Linked DNA regions of Homo sapiens: region 2 is linked to region 1. Evidence: promoter capture Hi-C in 16 types of primary human blood cells and fetal thymus (Javierre and others, 2016). All regions are on one chromosome and are shown on one strand. The core of a region is centred on a gene start or on the middle of the fragment in contact, and the rest is flanking DNA. Distances in the headings are between cores, read along the strand shown.

Region 1 (4,216 bases), core at 822-3,321:
CTGTGAGGGGTTCAGAGGTAAGACCTTCGGTGTATTCACTTAGCTCCCTACGGAAAACTTCGAGAAGAAGGCGACTGAGATCGGTTAGCACTTAAATCCCTTTCAAAGCCCCGGCTCCCATCGCCCCTCCTATGGCCTCCTACCTGCAGAGAAGCAAAGCAGGTACACCCAGTGCCTTAGGCGGGCCAAGCCTAGCACTGTGGGAGCAAAAAACATGGCTTCATCGTCAGGGTGCGCTATGACCAGCAGGGTCCGGCTTTCGGCTCCCAGCCGTCCTCCCTGCTCCCGACTCTTCATTCGTTCTGAGGAGTCCCAAACCCAGAGGAAGCCCCATGCCAAGACCGCCAACGCCACACACAGGAGCCACATTGCTTCCATGATGGGTAAGCAGCACTGAGCCTGCGCAGTAGGAAAGGCTGCCTCTGACCCTGACTCCGGCTGGAAAACTTCACCGGGGAATGTTGGGTTCCGCTGTTAAGTCCCTCCCGCCGACATGCTCCGGAAGCTTGAGGTTTTAACGTTAAGGGTTCTCTTGTGTTTTAACACAGAAGTCTCCATGCCGTCCAGTTTCCTACCCTAGTCCTACCACACTGTACAATCGGTTTAAAAGGAAGCGTCTTATATATAAGCTCCCACTTATAGGAAGAGTTCCTTCCTCTTCATTTTCGAATTCATTTCTTAAAACTCGGGCCTTTCTCGTAATTATAGGGTTAGACAGCCCGTTATCCGTATGACAGTTTTCCAAAATAGCCAGTTACACCAACTTTGTTATTCCTTCTCACTTTTGGATGGCTTTCTTTACCTTTTTTTTTTTTTTTGAGAGGCTCTGTCGCCCAGGCTGGAGTGCAGTGGAGCGATCTCGGCTCACTGCAACCTCTGTCTCCCGGGTTCAAGCGACTCTTCTGCCTCAGCCTCCCGAGTAGCTGGGACTATAGGCGCGCGCCACCACGCCCAGCTAATTTTTGTATTTTTAGTAGAGAGGGGGTTTCACCATGTTAACTAGGCTGGTCTCGAACTCCTGACTTCGTGATCCGCTCGCCTCGGCCTCCCAAAGTGCTGGGATTACAGGCCTGAGCCACCGCGCCCGGCCCTTTCTTTTTTTTTTTTGAAACGGTCTGGCTCCGTCGCCCAGGCTGGAGTGCAGTGGCGCGACCTAGGTTCGCTGCTACCTCAGCCTCCCGCGTTCAAGCAATTCTCCCACTTCGGTCTCCCCAGTAGCTGGGATTACTGGCGCGCGCCACCACGCCCGCTTAATTTTTGTATTTTTAGTAGTGACGGGGTTTCTCCATGTTCGTCAGGCTGGTCTCGAACTCCTGACCTTAAGTGATGGCCCGCCTCGGCCTCCCTAAGTGCTGGGATTACAAGCGTGACCCACTGCGTCCGGTCGGGCCTGGCTTTTCTAAAGGAACGTATGCGTGCGGTTACGAGGAACCGTCGTTTCCCCAGCAGGGTGAGGCTGAGCGTGCACTTAACAGTCGCGAGGGCCACAGGCTCCTCTTGCAAGTAACTTAAGGTTAAGGAGCAACATCGTGGACAAATCGGCCTCGCCCAGCATTTCAGTGAGGGCTTGGTGCGAATTCCAGCCAGAGCCCTAGAAAGTATCTTGGGCAGGTCGAAATGCACCCCTCCAGCTCCCAGCCACGAGGGGACCGGCTTCCCTGTACGCAGCTCCGGCCAGAGGAGGCCGCCGCCGCCCCACCACGCCGCGGAGGGGTTTGCAGGGTCCCTTCCACGGCCTGGAGTTTTTCCTTTTCCCACGCCTGAGGAAGGCCTCGGGCGCGCGGAACAGACGGGCAGGCGGGGGGCGCACAAGCCCAGGGCACGATGGCAGCAGCGCTGGATCCGGCTGGGCGCTGCTCGGCCCCGTATCCGTCCGAGAGGACCGCCGCTGCCAGGCCTAGAGGAGACATGAAGAGACCGGGCGCAGCGCGACCCGGGAAGCTCCGCCGAGGTAGGAGAGGCGCCCGGCCAGCGGAGGGAGTTGGTCTCCCAACTCTCCGGAAGGAGGAGGAGCCGGCGCTGGAGCCGCCTTAGCCGCGGCTCCGCGGGCTGGGGGGAGGGAGAGGGGTTGAGTCAAGATGGCGGCCAAGGTGGCGAAGCAGCAGCCGCGGCGGCGGCGGCGGCTGGAGTGAGCGTCCGACTCGCCGCGCCGAACGAGGTCCCGGTGTAGGGCCGCGCGCCGTGGCCGCGTCCCACTCCTCAGGCCGGGGCGCACGTCGGCTCCCACGCTTAGCCAGCTCCCGGTGAGTAGGCCCTGGCGCCTGCAACCCCGGCCTCCGGGCTCCTGCTAGTCCGGGGGCTTCCGAGGGCTCCCGGGGCAGCAGCCGCTGGGACGGTTTCTCCGCCGGGCGGGGGGTGTCGCAGGCCTGGGCAGGTCGGGACCCGTCCTGGCCGCCTGGCCTCTTCCACTCGGCAGCCCAGGAGAGAGCCGGGCGCGGCGGGGAGCTCGGGCTGGGCTAGCGGAGGCTTATGGAGTTTGGAGGAAGAATGGGCTGTGGCCGGGCCGGGGCTGGCCCCGAGGTGTCCTGTGCGGAGGGGCGTGCGGAGCCTACAGGGCCTGCGAGGGAGAGCGGGCAGCCGGTGCCCCGGGTGGGGCCGGCGCAGGTGGCGGGCCTGGGCTCACTGAGGCGGAGTTGGTGGCCGACTTGGAAGTGTAGAAGGGGCTGCGGAGGTTGACAGCCATGGACAAGTGCGTGCAGAGTAAATTAGTTCACCTTTCTAACAGACCGCTTCAGGGTGTAATGGCGAAGGCTGGGTACTGGTGGAGATGGCAAAGATCCGAACACTATACCTTCTGCCGTTTATTGTTGGTGTTTTCTTAAGCGAAGTCCGTAAGTGCACCCCTTTTTGGGGAGAGAGGAATTTGAGAAACTGTAGTTGTGAAATCAGCCTTTATGGAGAGGAGACTGAATTCTTCAAATTAACTGGATCAGGAATAGTCATGTATTAAAGGAATGGATGGGAATAAGTGATATGGACGAAAACTATTTGCTCAGGAAGTGTCAGTTTTCTTTATGTGATGTTGCATGCTGCGGTGCCTCTTCCACAGAGTTAACCTTGGAGAGTAGTAGTATAGGTAATTCTAATCTTTGGGATTAGTATGTAAACCTGCATCAGATTTGCTTCTCTAATTATATCCTAATTATATTGAAATTTACATTCCTTGTGTGCACCCTGGTGAGGCAGTGATGGAAGGCTGAACATGGCACTGTGCAAGGAGCAACAGGCCCGGGATTTAAAAATGCCTACAAAGATTCATTCATTCGTTCAATATATCTTGATCAATAGCTGCTGATGCTGGGTCACATGTGATTGTCCTGTGGATAACTGAAGAGTTGATGGCATCGTTTAATTTTTAATAGCTTTTTAAAATGTTTTGATGTACCTTTTCATGAAGATATTTATTGGATGAACCAACTTGTACTTGCCCGGGCTCAGGAGCAGACCAATTTTAGAATGTTATTTAGACAAGGGTAACAATTACAGAAGAAGTAACCGCAAGTTACTGGAGAGAGAAATCTTGTATCTTTTTTTCTTTTTCTGTTAACATCCGGTGGAAGTTTATTTATTTGTTTTAATATTTATAGTACCCAGTTGCTTGGCCTTGCTTTAAGCACACCTGTTAATGGAAATCAAGATTAATTGTATATATGGATATAGCTATGTATAAAATGCTCACAGTAGGAACTGATTACTTACAATACTAAAATACTCTTTCCTTTTACAAAAGGCTTGCCATATGTTGAACTACTCCCCCGGAGAAAATATAATACAAAGTATCTTGATTCTTGCTCTAACTATGTGATTTTGGAACTTGATCAACCTTTCTGTGCTTCAGTTTCCTCATCTTGAATATTAGGTAAACATCTACTCTCCTAGGGTTGGCTGTTGTGAGCCTAAAGGGAGTTAATAGTTATAAAATTGTTTTAAACAGATTGAAGGGGTTATATTTCTGTGAGGTGGTAACAGCTCCCTCTGGGCTCCTGTAATGCTTTTTCTGCACATCTCTCGCGGCATTTACACTTTCTATCTTGTAGGTATTTATGTACCTATTTTATCTCTTGAGAGCAGGATAGGCCCTTCGCTGATTTTATCTTTTTTTTTTTTTTTTTTTTGAGACAGTCTTGCTCTGTCACCCAGGCTGGAGTGCAGTGGCGCAATCTCAGCTCATTGCAACCTCCGCCTCCGGGTTCAAGCAATTCTTCTGCCTCAGCCT
Region 2 (4,227 bases), core at 1,360-3,859, about 42 Mb before region 1:
TGGAAGAGGACTGGTGATGGTGGAGGGTGAGAGGGTGCCGTTTCCTGCTCCAGCTCCAGACCTTGTCTGCAGAAAACATCTGCAGTGCAGCAAATCCATGTCCAGCCAGGCAACCAGCTGCTGCCTGTGGCGTGTGTGGGCTGGATCCCTTGAAGGCTGAGTTTTTGAGGGCAGAAAGCTAGCTATGGGTAGCCAGGTGTTACAAAGGTGCTGCTCCTTCTCCAACCCCTACTTGGTTTCCCTCACCCCAAGCCTCATGTTCATACCAGCCAGTGGGTTCAGCAGAACGCATGACACCTTATCACCTCCCTCCTTGGGTGAGCTCTGAACACCAGCTTTGGCCCCTCCACAGTAAGGCTGCTACATCAGGGGCAACCCTGGCTCTATCATTTTCCTTTTTTGCCAAAAGGACCAGTAGCATAGGTGAGCCCTGAGCACTAAAAGGAGGGGTCCCTGAAGCTTTCCCACTATAGTGTGGAGTTCTGTCCCTGAGGTGGGTACAGCAGCCTTGGTTCCTCTGGGGGTTGAGAATAAGAATAGTGGGGAGGGAAAAACTCCTCCTTGAAGATTTCCTGTCTCAGAGTCCCAGAGAGGTAGAAAGGAGGAATTTCTGCTGGACTTTATCTGGGCAGAGGAAGGATGGAATGAAGGTAGAAAAGGCAGAATTACAGCTGAGCGGGGACAACAAAGAGTTCTTCTCTGGGAAAAGTTTTGTCTTAGAGCAAGGATGGAAAATGGGGACAACAAAGGAAAAGCAAAGTGTGACCCTTGGGTTTGGACAGCCCAGAGGCCCAGCTCCCCAGTATAAGCCATACAGGCCAGGGACCCACAGGAGAGTGGATTAGAGCACAAGTCTGGCCTCACTGAGTGGACAAGAGCTGATGGGCCTCATCAGGGTGACATTCACCCCAGGGCAGCCTGACCACTCTTGGCCCCTCAGGCATTATCCCATTTGGAATGTGAATGTGGTGGCAAAGTGGGCAGAGGACCCCACCTGGGAACCTTTTTCCCTCAGTTAGTGGGGAGACTAGCACCTAGGTACCCACATGGGTATTTATATCTGAACCAGACAGACGCTTGAATCAGGCACTATGTTAAGAAATATATTTATTTGCTAATATATTTATCCACAAATGTGGTCTGGTCTTGTGGTTTTGTTCTGTCGTGACTGTCACTCAGGGTAACAACGTCATCTCTTTCTACATCAAGAGAAGTAAATTATTTATGTTATCAGAGGCTAGGCTCCGATTCATGAAAGGATAGGGTAGAGTAGAGGGCTTGGCAATAAGAACTGGTTTGTAAGCCCCTAAAAGTGTGGCTTAGTGAGATCAGGGAAGGAGAAAGCATGACTGGATTCTTACTGTGCTTCAGTCATTATTATTATACTGTTCACTTCACACATTATCATACTTCAGTGACTCAGACCTTGGGCAAATACTCTGTGCCTCGCTTTTTCAGTCCATAAAATGGGCCTACTTAATAGTTGTTGCAGGACTTACATGAGATAATAGAGTGTAGAAAATATGTTCCAAAGTGGAAAGTTTTATTCAGTGATAGAAAACATCCAAACCTGTCACAGAGCCCATCTGAACACAGCATGGGACCGCCAACAAGAAGAAAGCCCGCCCGGAAGCAGCTCAATCAGGAGGCTGGGCTGGAATGACAGCGCAGCGGGGCCTGAAACTATTTATATCCCAAAGCTCCTCTCAGATAAACACAAATGACTGCGTTCTGCCTGCACTCGGGCTATTGCGAGGACAGAGAGCTGGTGCTCCATTGGCGTGAAGTCTCCAGGGCCAGAAGGGGCCTTTGTCGCTTCCTCACAAGGCACAAGTTCCCCTTCTGCTTCCCCGAGAAAGGTTTGGTAGGGGTGGTGGTTTAGTGCCTATAGAACAAGGCATTTCGCTTCCTAGACGGTGAAATGAAAGGGAAAAAAAGGACACCTAATCTCCTACAAATGGTCTTTAGTAAAGGAACCGTGTCTAAGCGCTAAGAACTGCGCAAAGTATAAATTATCAGCCGGAACGAGCAAACAGACGGAGTTTTAAAAGATAAATACGCATTTTTTTCCGCCGTAGCTCCCAGGCCAGCATTCCTGTGGGAAGCAAGTGGAAACCCTATAGCGCTCTCGCAGTTAGGAAGGAGGGGTGGGGCTGTCCCTGGATTTCTTCTCGGTCTCTGCAGAGACAATCCAGAGGGAGACAGTGGATTCACTGCCCCCAATGCTTCTAAAACGGGGAGACAAAACAAAAAAAAACAAACTTCGGGTTACCATCGGGGAACAGGACCGACGCCCAGGGCCACCAGCCCAGATCAAACAGCCCGCGTCTCGGCGCTGCGGCTCAGCCCGACACACTCCCGCGCAAGCGCAGCCGCCCCCCCGCCCCGGGGGCCCGCTGACTACCCCACACAGCCTCCGCCGCGCCCTCGGCGGGCTCAGGTGGCTGCGACGCGCTCCGGCCCAGGTGGCGGCCGGCCGCCCAGCCTCCCCGCCTGCTGGCGGGAGAAACCATCTCCTCTGGCGGGGGTAGGGGCGGAGCTGGCGTCCGCCCACACCGGAAGAGGAAGTCTAAGCGCCGGAAGTGGTGGGCATTCTGGGTAACGAGCTATTTACTTCCTGCGGGTGCACAGGCTGTGGTCGTCTATCTCCCTGTTGTTCTTCCCATCGGCGAAGATGGCCCTGGAGACGGTGCCGAAGGACCTGCGGCATCTGCGGGCCTGTTTGCTGTGTTCGCTGGTCAAGGTGTCAGTCGGGGACCTGGTTGTAGGGCCCATGGGGGACCAAGGTCGGGGAAAGAGGGCGGAATGGGGCTGTGGGACAGTAAAGAGAAAAGTTAAGTCTCAGAACTCAGAGGTGGCAGGGGGAGTGAGAAGCCGAAGGAGGCCATCGTTTACCTCGTAGGATCGCGGACAGGTCTTGCAGCTGAGGGCAGGGGCGGTCTTACATGCCTTTGAATCCTCAGCTCTTAGACGTTCGGTGAACTTACGTTGGAGCCGAAAGACACTGGGAGTCAGAGGCGGGTGGGGATCCGCTGCTGAGTGAGTAGTCGGAAAGGATGCCTGACCCTGAGTAGACTAGAGAAAGGAATAGATAAAACGGAATTGGGAACGAGAGAGGAAGGAGTGGGAGGGTGGGACTTAGGAATGAAGCTTTGAGAGTAGTAGGTGGGGAACCTTAGGATACACAGTCAACATAGGGAAACAAGAAATTGAGCAGGTCGAAGTATTGAGAAAGCTACTTTTTCTCTTGGTCTTGTTCATGCTTATCTCTCCTTTTCCTTTATTTTTCTTTCACTCCCAGACTATAGACCAGTTTGAATATGATGGTTGTGACAATTGTGATGCATATCTACAAATGAAGGGTAACCGAGAGATGGTATATGACTGCACTAGCTCTTCCTTTGATGGGTAAGCCGCTTCAGTTTCCATCATTCACTTCTGCATTACCCAACCTGCACCCAGAGAAGTAAATGCAGGGCAAGTGTTAATCCTAGTTGGGCCCAGCCATTCGTTTTTGGGGGTTATTTTGTGTGGGTTTTTTTTTTTTTTTTTTTTTTTGAATCAGGGTTTTGCTCTGTGGCTCAGGCTGGAGTGCAGTGGCATGATCATAGCTCACTGCAGCGTGGAATGATCCTCTGACTTCAACCTCCCAGAGTGCTGGGATTATAGGTGTAAGCCACTGTGTCCAGCCTCAACAGTTATTTTGGGACATACTAGTGCTATGCATCTAATACAGTGACCACTATCCACGTGTAGCTACTGAGCACTTGAAATGTGTCTAGTCCAAATTAAGACATGCTTTTAAGTATAAAATATACCCCAGATTTCAAAGACTTAACATGAGAAGAAAGAATGTAATCTTAATAATGTTTGTTAAATGCATGAAAATTTTTTTTGAAAATGAAGGGAAGGGAGGTGTAGTAATGGTAGATCATTGCCCAAAAGCTGTTGCTTTTTTTTTTTTTTTTTTTTTGGACAGACTTTTCGCCCTTGCCACTCATGCTGGAGTGCAATGGTGCAGTCTCGGCTCACTGCAACCTCTGCCTCCTGGGTTCAAGCAATTCTCCTGCCTCAGCCTCTTGAGTAGCTGGGATTACAGGCACCCACCACCACTCCCAGCTAATTTTTATATCTTTAGTAGAGACGGGGTTTCACCATGTTGGCCAGGCTGGTCTCAAACTCCTGACCTCAGGTGATCTGCCCACCTCGGCCTCTCATAGTGCTGGG

What was found. The method cuts DNA at HindIII sites, captures the fragments that hold promoters and counts their contacts. A CHiCAGO score of 5 or more calls a contact.
Region 2: the fragment with the promoter of SUPT4H1 here is called in contact with the fragment with the promoter of NCOR1 in region 1 in 1 of 17 cell types (non-activated CD4 T cells); the score reaches 9.2 in non-activated CD4 T cells.

Annotation. Positions count from the first base shown.
Region 1 is chr17:16,213,389-16,217,604 of GRCh38, reverse strand. It overlaps NCOR1 (nuclear receptor corepressor 1), which reads left to right and starts at 2,071. Exons shown (of 46, transcript NM_006311.4): 1 at 2,071-2,243. It overlaps PIGL (phosphatidylinositol glycan anchor biosynthesis class L), which reads right to left and starts at 395. Exons shown (of 7, transcript NM_004278.4): 1 at 144-395. The coding sequence starts at 378. RefSeq lists enhancers at 370-619, 1,806-1,865, 1,443-2,358, 2,359-3,275 and a silencer at 2,136-2,605. The HindIII fragment of the contact is 4,024 bases long and covers 508-4,216 here.
Region 2 is chr17:58,350,583-58,354,809 of GRCh38, reverse strand. SUPT4H1 (SPT4 homolog, DSIF elongation factor subunit) reads left to right here and starts at 2,609. Exons shown (of 5, transcript NM_003168.3): 1 at 2,609-2,743; 2 at 3,302-3,408. The coding sequence starts at 2,675. TSPOAP1-AS1 (TSPOAP1, SUPT4H1 and RNF43 antisense RNA 1) reads right to left here. Exons shown (of 5, transcript NR_038410.1): 4 at 2,896-3,066; 5 at 1,083-2,811. RNF43 (ring finger protein 43) reads left to right here. Exons shown (of 10, transcript NM_017763.6): 10 at 1-1,134. RefSeq lists an enhancer at 1,293-1,828 and silencers at 2,216-2,645, 2,926-3,035. The HindIII fragment of the contact is 2,691 bases long and covers 462-3,152 here.